Linked DNA regions of Homo sapiens: all the other regions are linked to region 3. Evidence: promoter capture Hi-C in 16 types of primary human blood cells and fetal thymus (Javierre and others, 2016). All regions are on one chromosome and are shown on one strand. Each heading gives the region's core, a stretch centred on a gene start or on the middle of the fragment in contact. The rest is flanking DNA. Distances are from core to core; before and after follow the strand shown.

What was found. Contacts are between HindIII fragments. The CHiCAGO score rates a contact against its expected background, and 5 or more counts as called.
Region 1: a contact is called between a fragment that was not itself captured here and the fragment with the promoter of ZDHHC5 in region 3, in 1 of 17 cell types (M0 macrophages). The highest score is 5.4, in M0 macrophages.
Region 2: a fragment that was not itself captured here is called in contact with the fragment with the promoter of ZDHHC5 in region 3 in 1 of 17 cell types (neutrophils); the score reaches 6.1 in neutrophils.

Annotation. Positions count from the first base shown.
Region 1 is chr11:59,221,679-59,225,718 of GRCh38, forward strand. No RefSeq gene overlaps it. Among named protein-coding and RNA genes, the nearest start is that of MPEG1, 11 kb to the left of the region's middle. The HindIII fragment of the contact is 1,487 bases long and covers 1,013-2,499 here.
Region 2 is chr11:59,259,160-59,263,050 of GRCh38, forward strand. It overlaps the pseudogene WARS1P1. Among named protein-coding and RNA genes, the nearest start is that of MPEG1, 48 kb to the left of the region's middle. The HindIII fragment of the contact is 1,941 bases long and covers 860-2,800 here.
Region 3 is chr11:57,666,281-57,670,301 of GRCh38, forward strand. ZDHHC5 (zDHHC palmitoyltransferase 5) reads left to right here and starts at 1,834. Exons shown (of 12, transcript NM_015457.3): 1 at 1,834-1,907. RefSeq lists enhancers at 886-1,465, 1,635-2,274, 2,275-2,912, 2,466-2,535 and silencers at 1,666-1,905, 2,156-2,355. The HindIII fragment of the contact is 3,116 bases long and covers 1-2,424 here.

The DNA of each region.
Region 1 (4,040 bases), core at 506-3,005, 1.6 Mb after region 3:
GGAATGTAGCAATGTTTGGTACATAGTTTGCTTATATTGAATGAATAAAGACGTGAATAAAACAGACAAATCTGACAGCATTTCTCAAACATTTCCCTGGAAAAGCAGGCCATGACTCATTGAGATGGAATACTCAAGCTTAAGTAACGTTATTATGAAATTTTTATTTGAATTTACTACAATATTTTTGAACAGTTACCCTGGGTCTAGTTTGTGCTATTTGTGTTTCTTACTATAAAAGAATTGGTTTTCTGGTCTGAAGTTATATCCTTGGCAAACGTGGGATGGTGTAAACTTGATGTCTTACATAATGAATCAATTACAAAGCCTAAAGACAGTGCTCCTCTATGCCAAAAGCTTTGGCCTTATTTACATCTGATCTGGTCTTCAAGGCTCTGGCCCTGCAAGGCTGAACCCATAGCCAGTTCCGTACCCACCTTGCTTCCCATCTTTGCCTGATATCTGCAGCTAATGAGTCTGTCCTAAAGGTACCTGGTCTTACCCCTCTCCCTGTTCCTAACCCTCCTACATAGATATAGAAGCTGGGTGGGGCAAAGGTTGGGAAGGAAGAAGAAACTCTCACAGAACCTGACTTGCCCCAATTGTAATAACACTTTCATTATGCCAACAGCAGGAGAAGGACTAAGTAGGGGAAAACTAGGAAAGAGAACCAGGTCAGCATAATGCAAATACAAGACAGGAGGCATTTATTTAAAATTTCTAGTTATTAGAGAGCCAAATAGGAGCTTTGCTAATTAGAACTAGGGTCCTCACTCCAGCTTTTCCTAGATCCTTGATAGGTCTTTCTCTCTTTTCTACTGGTCCTCTCTTCAAGTTAGATTTTTAATTTTTACCTTGAGAAATTAGGGCCTCATGGGACAGAAAAAGTAGCACAGGGCTAGAAACCTGGTAACTTTGATTCTATTCCTCATTCTCCCACTAACCTAAGGGTGACTTTAGACAAGTCACTTCCCCTCTCTGAGTCTCTGTTTCCCCATCTGTAAAATAAAAAAGCTTGTTGAGATTCTCTCCAGCATCTGAATGACACACAGTCTGTGATTCTGCAATCCAGTGATAACAAACTTCTTCAAAATTATGACCATGATGTTTTACTTGAAAAAAAAAAAGAATATCTTGTTGAATCCAGGTCATGGTGTGGAAATTTTTCCGTGTTTTGTTTCTGCTGATACTTCCCCTTTGTGACTTGCTTCCTTGTGTGGTTTGTAACTTATGAGTCTTGAGCTGCATTTCCACTGGGGTTGTTTGCTGTGGGAGGCTGGTTTGCTCCGGTTTATGGAACTGTCCCTCCAAGATAGTTTTAGCTTTGCCTCTGCTGAGGCCTACTCTATCAGTATATGAGGACTTAGATTCAATATACTGAATAAACTTATACTGAATATGCTGAGTATATGAGGCCTTATGCTGAACCAGTGTTTATGGTAATTTCTTGGTTTGGGAACAATGTGAACAAAAACGTCACACCTATGTGGTCATAAGCCTTCTTGACTCCCAAGACAGTTCCATCACCCCCTTGAACATTGTACACAGGACCAGCAGCCTGGATCCCCACCCACAGCCCTTAAAGCCCCAAGACTCTGCCATTAAGTCTACGTAAGGCCCAACAAGCTCCTTAGCTGCAGGGCTTCAACTCCCACTTACTGCTCTGATTTTGAGTTCTCTCTTTTTGGCCTTCAGGTATTTCCCTTTCTTGGTTTTGAGCTTGAATCTTTGTGTTTGAAGAAATGTGTCTATACCTGAGTATATGCAGGGCAGGGTTTCCATGCATCAGCTCACCCAGCCAAGTTCTCTTTTGTTATAATTATTTTGTAATTGTTAACTTTTTCTTAGATGTAACAGGTTGCCATGCATGTATTGTGGTTTCAGGGCTGTGGGAAACAAACTTTCCTGCTGTCACACCCCTGCCCTGAATAAAATAATACTTTCACAGAAGTCTAAAACCCTTTTTTTCTGAAAGTAACAACTTTCTTTCCATAGGGAGAGCTCAGGCTGCAAATGTAATTAATCTGCCTTCCCTCTCCCTGAACCGCTAGAATAAAGATGAAGAACTGCTATTTCACCAAGTGATGACAACACAACTTTTCCTGAGAGTCGGGAGAGGGCAAAAGAGCAGCTAGTGATTGCATCAGTGAAGTGGGGAGAGAAAAAGACAGAGAGAATTGAGGTCTGAGGGTGGAGAAAGGTCTGGAGACTAACTTCACTGGCAGTGGGATGTTAACAAGAGCCAGATCTCTGCAATGTTCTTCTCCTTTACTTTCATGGTGGGTGAGATAATATGAAGGAATTCTTCATAGAGAGGAAAGATTATGGTCAGGACATGAGGATTCAGGAGCAGTCGGTGTGAATCCTAGCTCTGCCACCATCTTGCAAATTGCTTCCTTTCTCTGGGCTTTCATTTTCTCACTTACAAAATTAGAGGATTATATTAAATTTGTGGATTATAAGCATTATTCAGCTGTAGAGCCTTTCTTTTCCCATGTAAGCTTACATGGAAACCAAAAATATAAAACATATGAAAGAAGAGCTCCCTCGGTTGAGCAGGAAGCAGGGCGCCAAAGCCCAGAAGTTCACTTCCTCCTCACCTCTCAGAGCAGGCCTGGGATCCCTGGAACACAATTTGAAAACTGCCAGTCCGTATATTCTCTTATGGTTTCTTCCATTTGAGGCATGATAATTATGATGAGAAGAAGTTTTCCAAGCCACAGGATTCATGGGATAGCTGAAGTAGCATGATTTCCTTGAAAACAGGAAATCAGAGTCGCCAAACAGTGGAGCAAGGGTTTTCAGACCGTACTGCATTCTTCCTTCTAGAACCTTTCACCTCCTCTTGGGTAAGTTGTCAACAAGCAACACCCAGCTGTTGTGTGATAAGTGGAAAGATTGCTGGGCCAGAAAAGAGTGCTTTCATTAACCAGCTGTGAGACATTAGCAAATTTTTTCCCCACTGGGAGCTCCAGTTATTTGCTTGTAAACAGAGGAGAGTGGGTAGAGCAGTCACTAAGAGATCATGGATAGCTCTAAAAATGTTGTGAGGTACAGTCAAATTAATAATGTACTCCTCCCCAAATTTGTTGAGCAAATACTGAGTCAGGCACCAGTTGCTTTGTCATGAAGATTATAGAGTCATTCAAGGACAGACATTGAACACGATGCACTATGTGAAAGGGAAGTTCAAGATGCTGAGAGAACGTAGCAGGGAAGTGAATGTGGCCCTGGGGATCAGCATGGCCCTCCAAGACAGACGGAGAGGGAGATGGAGATTCAGAGACAAAGAGCCACACGTGGAGACAGAGACAGAGAAACAGAGAGAGAGAGAGACAGACAGAGATATGGAGAGAAACAGAAACAGACACAAAGAGAGAGAGACAGAGAAAGAAGAGACAAAAACAGAGTCAGAGACAAAGATAGACATAGAAGAACAGAGAGGAATGACAGAGACAGAGATAGAAATAGACAGATATATAGAGATAGAGACAGAGATATATACAGAAACAGAAAGACAAAGAGATAGACATAGAGACAGAGAACAGAAACAGAGAGAGAGAAAAGAAACAGAGAGATAGACCACGGATAGAGATACAGAGACAGGGAGACAGAGATAGAGAGACAGAGTGAGTCATAGAGACAGATAGAAAGGCAGAGACAGAGACAGAAACAGATTGTTTTCATCCATTTTAAATTGCTATAAAGGAACACTTGAGGCTGGGTAATTTGTAAAGAAAATAGGTTTAATTGGCTCACAGTTCTGCAGGCTTTATATAAAGCACGGCACCAGCATCTGCTCCTGGAGAGGACTCAGGAAGCTTTGAATCATGGCAGAATGCAAAGGGGGAGCAGGTGCATCACACATCGCATGGCGAGAGTGGGAGCAAGAGAGACAGAGAAGGTGGATGTCCCAAACTCTTTCAAACAACCAGCTCTCAGGTGAACTAACTGGGCAAGAACTCACTTATCACCAAGGGGATGGTGCTCTTCCATTCATGAGGGATTCGCCCCCATGATCCAGTCACCTCCCACCAGGC
Region 2 (3,891 bases), core at 580-3,079, 1.6 Mb after region 3:
ACAGCCAGGTTTCTAGTTGTTTTAAGAAAAGTGTAGCTGAAGGTACAGCTGTTTGTCATGGTAACAACAGATTTCACTTCTAAGTGCCACTTGCACGCCTGGCTCTGCAAGGGTGGTGTGGGCTGACCTGGTGTCTGAGGCAGGAAGAAGCCACTTAGGGCATGTGGAGCCATCTCTCACCATGGCTGTCTTTTTGAGGGCAGGATGACACCAGCAGAGACATGCTCACTGGTGACCTCAAGAAGATGCTCATAGAGGTTCTCCAGCCCGTGATTACAGAGCACCAAGCCCAGTGCAAGGAGGTCATGGACGAGTTAGTGAAAGAGTTCACTAACGAATGAGTTCAGTCGTGCTCATTTTATATATGCTTATAAAGAGACGTGATTTATCAATAATCCCAGCCCAATCAAAGTACCGCTACCTGTAGTCTTCCGTCACATGATCATTACTGGGCTTGGTTTCTCTAAGCCTGTGTATGTTATCAATACTGTTTATTCCTCTGAGTTTCATTATTTCTGTCTCTTGAGGGCAAAACATTGTGGGTGATTGGTGCTGACATTGCATGGTCAGATAGAGAAGTCCAGCTGTGAATCTCTCCCCCAAAGCAGCCCCAAGGCATGGAGCCTTTGGCTGGAAGTCCATGGGCCAACCTGTTCTGTCCATAGAAGACTCCTAGGGCTCCCAGTATACTCTTAAAACCCACTCTATTTTAAAATATATATTCTATGTATGCATATATGGAAGTGAAATATCATTATTGTAACCTAAAAAGTGCTTTGAAATGTTGATGTGGGGAAGTTTATTGAGCGCAAGATGTATTTCAGCCCATGACTCACCACGAAAAAAATTGATAGGTAAAAGCTTTGCTACACATTTGACTAAGAAATCAGCCAGCTTTAAAGCTGCTTTTAATCATAAAGAGTGAACAGAGTTGGGCAGTTTTTATTAAATTGAGTCTTGGGGGTGAAACTTTCCGGTTTACTTAACTCCAGACCATGCATGTATTCTACTCCGGAAATCATGCTCATTTCCCTTGACTAGTGTTTTCCCGCCAATGGATCCTAGACCCTCCATCCTGCAGAGTCAGCGGTGTCTTTTCCCCTGACTGTGTCAGATGCTGAGCAGTCATTACCTCTGCAAATGTTTCATTTTGACAATTGACCGCAATGGAAGTCAGTACAGAGCAATGCACTGGCTGTGTCCGGGATGGGTGGACGTAGCTAGGAAGAAAGTCACACAAGCAGCCCTAGAGGCCCTCACTGGTGTCTGGACAGGCTGCATTTAATCACATGCCATGTTCAGGCTTGGAAGAGAAATTCCAAATTTCAGGGGAGCCCCTGGTCGATATATCTGGGTCTCTCCTCTTGAGCGCTCTGCCTTCCTGCCGCCCCTTGGAGTAAATAAACTTCTTTGGCTCCCGCACGAGGTGCTGTGCTCTGTCTGGGAGGTCTGAGGAGGGAACAAAGTCCCCTCCCTTCCCCTCTTCATGGATGGCCTTGAGTCTGCTGGGGTCAAAATCTGGGGAAAACGCACAATCCCGGGAACCCCACCGTGCCGAGTCGTAGGCTCCCAGGAATGGGCTTGTGCTGGGACAGCCGTTAGCAGTGTCTTGGTGCGGGCTCCCTCTCACACCTCATTTCACATTCCCAACAGCTGGTGGAGAACACAAGTAGAGGTTGTCCTTGTTTCTCAGAGGAGGGGCCAGCCATGGGGTGCTTGGTGGGGCTGTGTAGTGATGGGGAGCACAGGCTGGGAGCCAGGCCAGGCCCCATTCACATGAGGCCCAGGGCAGAGTCCAAGCTGCAAGGGAGACTTGGGCTCACTATACCGGACTATCCTCATTTTGCAGGTGGGGAAACTGAGGCTTAGGAGAGGGGAACATGGCTTGTCCAAGGCCACAGGGTGACTCTGACACAGTGAGCCTGTCCTGGCTCTTGGTGCTTCTGTCTCCACACAGATACACAGGAGCACCATTTTACAAATAAGGGAATTAAGGTTCCAGTCCTGGGAGGCTGGACGCCTGGGTTCAAGTCCCACTTGGGTACTGGTGTGCAGCATGACCTCACGTAGGCCTCCTTTCCCAGCCTTGATTCCTGCTGGGCTGAGCCCTTCTCCCTGCCTTCCCAGGCCCAGCCTCTGCTCACCTGGCTGGCTGTGGCCAGTGGGAGTGAACCACTTACAGAAGATAGCATCTCACCAGCCATGTTGCCCTGGGCAACTAATACAACTTATTGTAGCTCCATTGTACCTGTGGGGCAGGTGCAATGAGGGACAACAAGTGAAGTCAATGACAGCTGCTGCTGTCATGGTCCACCCAGCCAGAGTGTCTATTGGCAGGGCCTGGGCAGGGCTGTGGGCCCAGAAGGGAGTGAGCCAACACAGACCAGCTTCTTCCCTCATCAGCTGTGTGACTTTGGACAGGTCACTTAACTTCCTGGGACCTCCATCTTCTCCCCTGTAAAAAGCAGTGATGCCTCCTATTTAGGGTATTAGGAGGGGTGCCCTGGGTCCAATAGTCAGGTGACTTGCCCAAGGCCACCGCTGGTCAGGGCAGAGGAGGGCTGCACACCTCCCATACCTCCCCCATTTTGCTAAAGTCCAGGGGTTTCCGAGAGAATTTTTCCCTGAGAGACAAGGGCACATCTGGATTAGGACGGACAGGAGCAGTGGCCCCGCAGGTATTTGGAGATGAGGTGTGAGGCCGGCTGCCAGCACCACCATGGTGCCGTAGGCTCTGCCGGAAGAGCACTCCTACTCCAGCTGGTAATGTCCTCTTGTCAGACAGATGTGGTACTGACCAAGCTTGGCCTTGCTGCCCTGTGGTCCCCAGCCTGGAAGGGAGACCAGCCAACTTTGTCTGAAAGGGTACGGTGTATGAAGAGCAATGGGTAGGGGAGCGGGGATCCAAGGTAGAGGGTGGCTGAGCACACAGGGACAGCTGCAGAACAGCTTGCCGCTCCAGGATAGTGCTCGGGGAGAAACAGGTCTGCCTCTGGCCCCCAGCCCCCGCCTGCAGCACCAGCAGATGTGATGTGTTCTCCCCAGGGCCACGCTGGCTGGGCCTTGCCGCAGGCCCAGTAATCTCTGATCATTACGGTAGAGGTTGTAGAGACAATGAGTACAGGGGCCGCTCCTGTACAACCTGCACCCCCTCCCCAGTGACAGCGCTCCGGACACACATGGAGCCAGCTGCTCAGTGACACAGGCTCAGGGAAGCCAAAGGCCCCCACCTCCCAGGGTGCAGCTGCTGCTGGAGCTGGGCCAGGAGTGCTACCAGGAACCCTCCTTCCAAGCCCGAGCAGGTGTGGTCTTCTTGACAAAGTGGTCCTGGGGTCAGCATTTGATGAACAGTGGAAACTCTCTCTTAGCTGCCTCCCTTTCCCAGCATTTGGCCAGAGCATCTCAGCCTCTGCATCTCCTAAGCTGGACACACTCCCAGGAATCCACTGCAGGACTTCATTCATTCATTCACTCATTCATTCATTCCACACCCTCTGAGCACATACTGTGCACCAGCCCTGGAGCCAGATGAAGTCCTTACACTGCTCACAGGCTCTTGTGGGAGGAGGGCAGGTAGACAAGTGACCACACACCCAGACAGGGCCTCAAGAGAGCAGAGCAGGAGACACCTGGGAGAAGCCTGGTGGTCAGGCAGGGAGAGCTTCCTGGAGGAGGTGACGCCTGGGATGTAGAACCAGCCAGGCCGAGCAGGAAGAGGGTGTTCCTGGCACAGGGCACAGGACATAAGGTCTGGTGCCCACAGCACCACACATACAGAGACCAGTGTGACAGGGGCAGGCTCAGGAGGGGGTCCACCTCTTGTTCCGGAATCAGTTTTGTTCAGCAGAACATGGGACAGCATACAGCCCACAGATACCTCAAGATCAGTGT
Region 3 (4,021 bases), core at 584-3,083:
GCCTCCCGGGTTGAAGCAATTCTCCTGCCTCAGCCTCCCGAGTAGCTGGGATTACAGGCTCCCCCGACCATGCCCGACTAATTTTTGTATTTTTAGTAGAGGGAGTTTCACTATGTTGGCCAGGCTGGTCTTGAGCACCTGACCTCGTGATCCGCCTGCCTTGGCCTCCCAAAGTGCTGGGATTACAGGTGTGAACCACCACGCCAGGCCAGGTCTGTTTTAAAAATATAAAGTCGTTATAAAGAACTCTCAAGTGTGTTGCAATAAATGCTGGATTGACGCTGTTAACAAGAATAAACTAGAACTTATAATATATGCCATGTCAGAGAAGGAACTAGATTCCAGAAAACAGAAGGTAGTTCTCTTTTACCTTACTGCCTAATGCTAGTGTCAGAACCACAGTAAAGCCAGCAACATTTGAGACCAAACCCGAGGACAGTCCTCAGGATTTTACAGGTGAGGGGCCTCGGCTTCAGGGAAGTGGCTTGTGAAACACCTTTTTGAGGGACCATTATGTAATAGCTAGAGTTGCTTTCGAAAAAAGAAATAGCCTCGAGCCGAATGGGGAGAGAACATGGGGCATTGCTATTGGGTTCACAGCTGTCTTGGGCTAATCAGGGCAAAGCGTAGCACTATGACCTATGCAGAGTTAGCTCGCCAGGGACAGTAGCTATTCTAGAGAACCTTTTGCTTTTAGCTTTGTATTCTAGGATTGGGTGAGGTGAGGGATGCGGGCGCCCATCCCACGTGTGACAGTGGGAAACTAATGGAATTCAGGGAGTTCACTTCCCGGCTCGCACTCCGGGGGCGGGAGGGTGCTGCCACCGCCTCAGGTCGCGCGCTCCTTAGGCTTCCCTCTCACGGTTAGCGCTACGGCTCCAAGGCTGGCGCCTGCTCTTCTTCATCTCCCTCCCCGGCCCTTGGCAGGAGCCTCGCCCTACATTGGCTCTTCAAGTCCGGGCGTCCCCTTCATGTGGGAGACACAGCCCAGACCATTCCATCGCCCTGGATTCTGCCCGGACCAGCGACCTCGCCGGACTGAAGATTTCTCCAGCAAGATTGTTTTAAATAAAGTTTTTGCCATCAAAAAAAAAAAAAAAAAAAAAAAAGGAGATGGGAAGGAGAAGAGGGAGGCCTAGTCGCCAAATGGTTGGCCAATCCGCCGCGAAGGGGCTGAAGCAGGAAGCGGCGATAGTCGTCGGTAATTGGCTGCGCTGGAAGCCTGTCTGGACTGTACCACCTCAGTAGGAGAGGGGTTGCTGAATTCGAGAAGGTAGCTGCTTGCTTTTGAGTACTTCTAGTACACACACATAATTCTTTTCTTATTTCCGGGGGTTTTTGCTTGGATTCAGTGGGAATACAACAGGACGCAGGAGAAGGGAAGACTCGCCTGGCCATTTCCTCATTCCTGACTCCTGTGCATTAGGCCAATCCTTGTCTCTTAGTTGTCCCCGCAACCCCACGGCCTTACGTGCGCGCTCTCGTCTTCTCGCGTGCGTACGTCGTTGTGTTGCTGCAGCCAATCAGGCCGCGAGGTCGCCGCGGTCGCCAGGGTTCGCGCGCACGCCCCAGATCGGAGTCGGGGTGGGGGCTATGGGTGAATGGGAGAGTGAGCGGGGTTGGGCGCGGCAGCGCGAGCCGCATGAATGAGACAAACGTGCGCCGCGCGAGACGTCGCGCGAGCCCGGACTAGGGAGCCAATGGGAACGCTGGAAGGGTTCGAGACCCGGCACTGAGGGCAACGGCCGCGCGCCGGCTCCGAGACGAGCGACGCCTGGCGGGAGCGCGCGGCAGCGGGGCGGGCGTGGAGCGTGCGGGGGCCGCGCGCTGCTTCTCTGAGGCAGGACGGCACTGCCGGGAGGCGGCGGTGACAACGACGGCGGTGGTGACGGGCACCGGGCTCGCGGGTGAGTGCGGAGGACACCGGTCCCTGCGGAACCGGAAGTGCCGTACCAGCGAGGTGGGAGGGGAGGGTGACCTCTAGGGAAGGGGGACCGAAGACGGGGAGGGTATTAAGGCCCTATTTCTCCTCCGGGCCGGGTCTTCCAACCGCGGCGGGACCCATGGGCCTTGGAAACGGACGACGAGTAGAGGCCGGGGATCCACGACCGCCAGGGCTCGGAACGGGTTAGAGACGGCCACTCAGCTCGAGACCGCGGTCCCCGGTGCCTGGCGCCCAGCCGCCGCCCCTTCCGCCCCCGGCCCTGCGCCCTCGGGCTCTGCGGTCCCCGCAGCCCGCTCTCTCAACCTCGGTGGGCCTGGCCGCCGTGGATTCCTTCTTTTCGGTTTCAGCGGTCGTCAGCCCTGCCCCAACGGGTGATTCTCCTTTCCCCAGTCCCGTGGTGGGGACCGGGTGCTGTTTCCCTTTTACCGCTCTGCGGTTCGAGTCCCTCGCTCCACTCTGCTGATACTTATTTTGGCTCAAGCTTCATCCTGTTACCTGTTCTCTCTCACCCGTCCGCTTCCTCCTCCTACCGCCACCAGCCGAGTGCTCCATGCGTTTAGTACTTTGTACTTTTTAAAGTGGAGCCCGAATGCGTTTGTCAATATTTTACCTATATTTGGGGCAGGCAGGTGGAAAGTGTTTTACCCACTTGGCCAAATGAAACACTGAAATAAGAAGTAAGAAAGTTGCTAAAAGTTAGGAAGGCAGTTGTAGGATCACATATACGTTATACGCTAGACTATTTTTTGCCTTGGATTCTTCACTTCCTGGTTAATGCCATCTTGACCAAGTTGATCTAACATTTGCATATCATCCTTCTATCTCAGTATACCTCTGTCCTGGATCAAATATCTTCAGAATGCTCATTATCACCCATTGTATAAACTTAATGTTTACAAAATTATATTGCCATGTATTTTGCTACCTCGGTATATAATGATAACACCCACATTAAACTTCTTGGCTCTTTCTCCCATACCTTGACATGTGAATTATTCCATGGTACCTCCATTACTGTGCATTTAGATTTACTCTATTGTACTGTTACACCGCTTATTTCAACAAAAAATAGTTGTGTTGTCCTTGGTACTGCTGGTATCCACCTATTTAAGGAAATACCTGTATTAAACCTTATTAAAGCCTTCAAACCACATATCCTGTATTGTTTGTTTTACATATACATATTTCCATTTCATAGTTTACTCTGTGCCTCAATATGGCATACATATTACTTTTTTTCTCATTTTTGAGACGGAGTCTGGCTCTGTCGCCCAGGCTGGAGTGCAGTGGCTGCTATCTTGGCTCACTGCAACTTCCACCTCCCGGGTTCAAGCGATTCTCGTGTCTCAGCCTCCCTAGTAGCTGGGATTTCAGGCATGCCCCATCACGCCCTGCTCATTTGTTTGTATTTTTAGTAGAGACAGGGTTTTGGTATGTTGGCCAGGCTGGTCTCGAACTCCTGACCTCAAATGATCCGCCCGCCTCGGCCTCCCAAAGTGCTGGGATTACAGGCGTGAGCCCCCGTGCCCAGCTGGCATACATATTCTTGTATACTTTTTTGATACTAGTATGGATTCAAACTGTTGACTCTGATGAACCATACTCACCCTTGTGGTTTCATCCTAGTATCTGCAGCACATTCTTTTGCTAAGAATTGGTTCATCTTTATTTATACCCAATAAATTGTTAGGTTTTTGATTTCCCTTCTACTGTGTAGCCCCCAAGCATCTCAGATGCTGTTCTCTTTTGTGTTCCCAGTATTATACTCCCAAAATTGCATGGCCTTTCATGACTCTGTATTACTATGTCAATATTAGTCCATGTGACTTTTTTCCTGTGGAAAATATATGAAACAATATATAGTATCTAAATGATATTCTACTCTAGATAAAATTTAAGTAGTATAATTTTCCATCTTTTCTAGTCTTTGGGATTTTGAGGGAAAAGTTTGCTTTAATAGTACATATTGGCTGGGCAGAGTGTCTCACACCTGTAATCCCAGCACTTTGGGTGAGGAGGCAGATCACCTGGAGGTCAGGAGTTCGAGACCAGCCTGGGCAACATGGTGAAACCCCA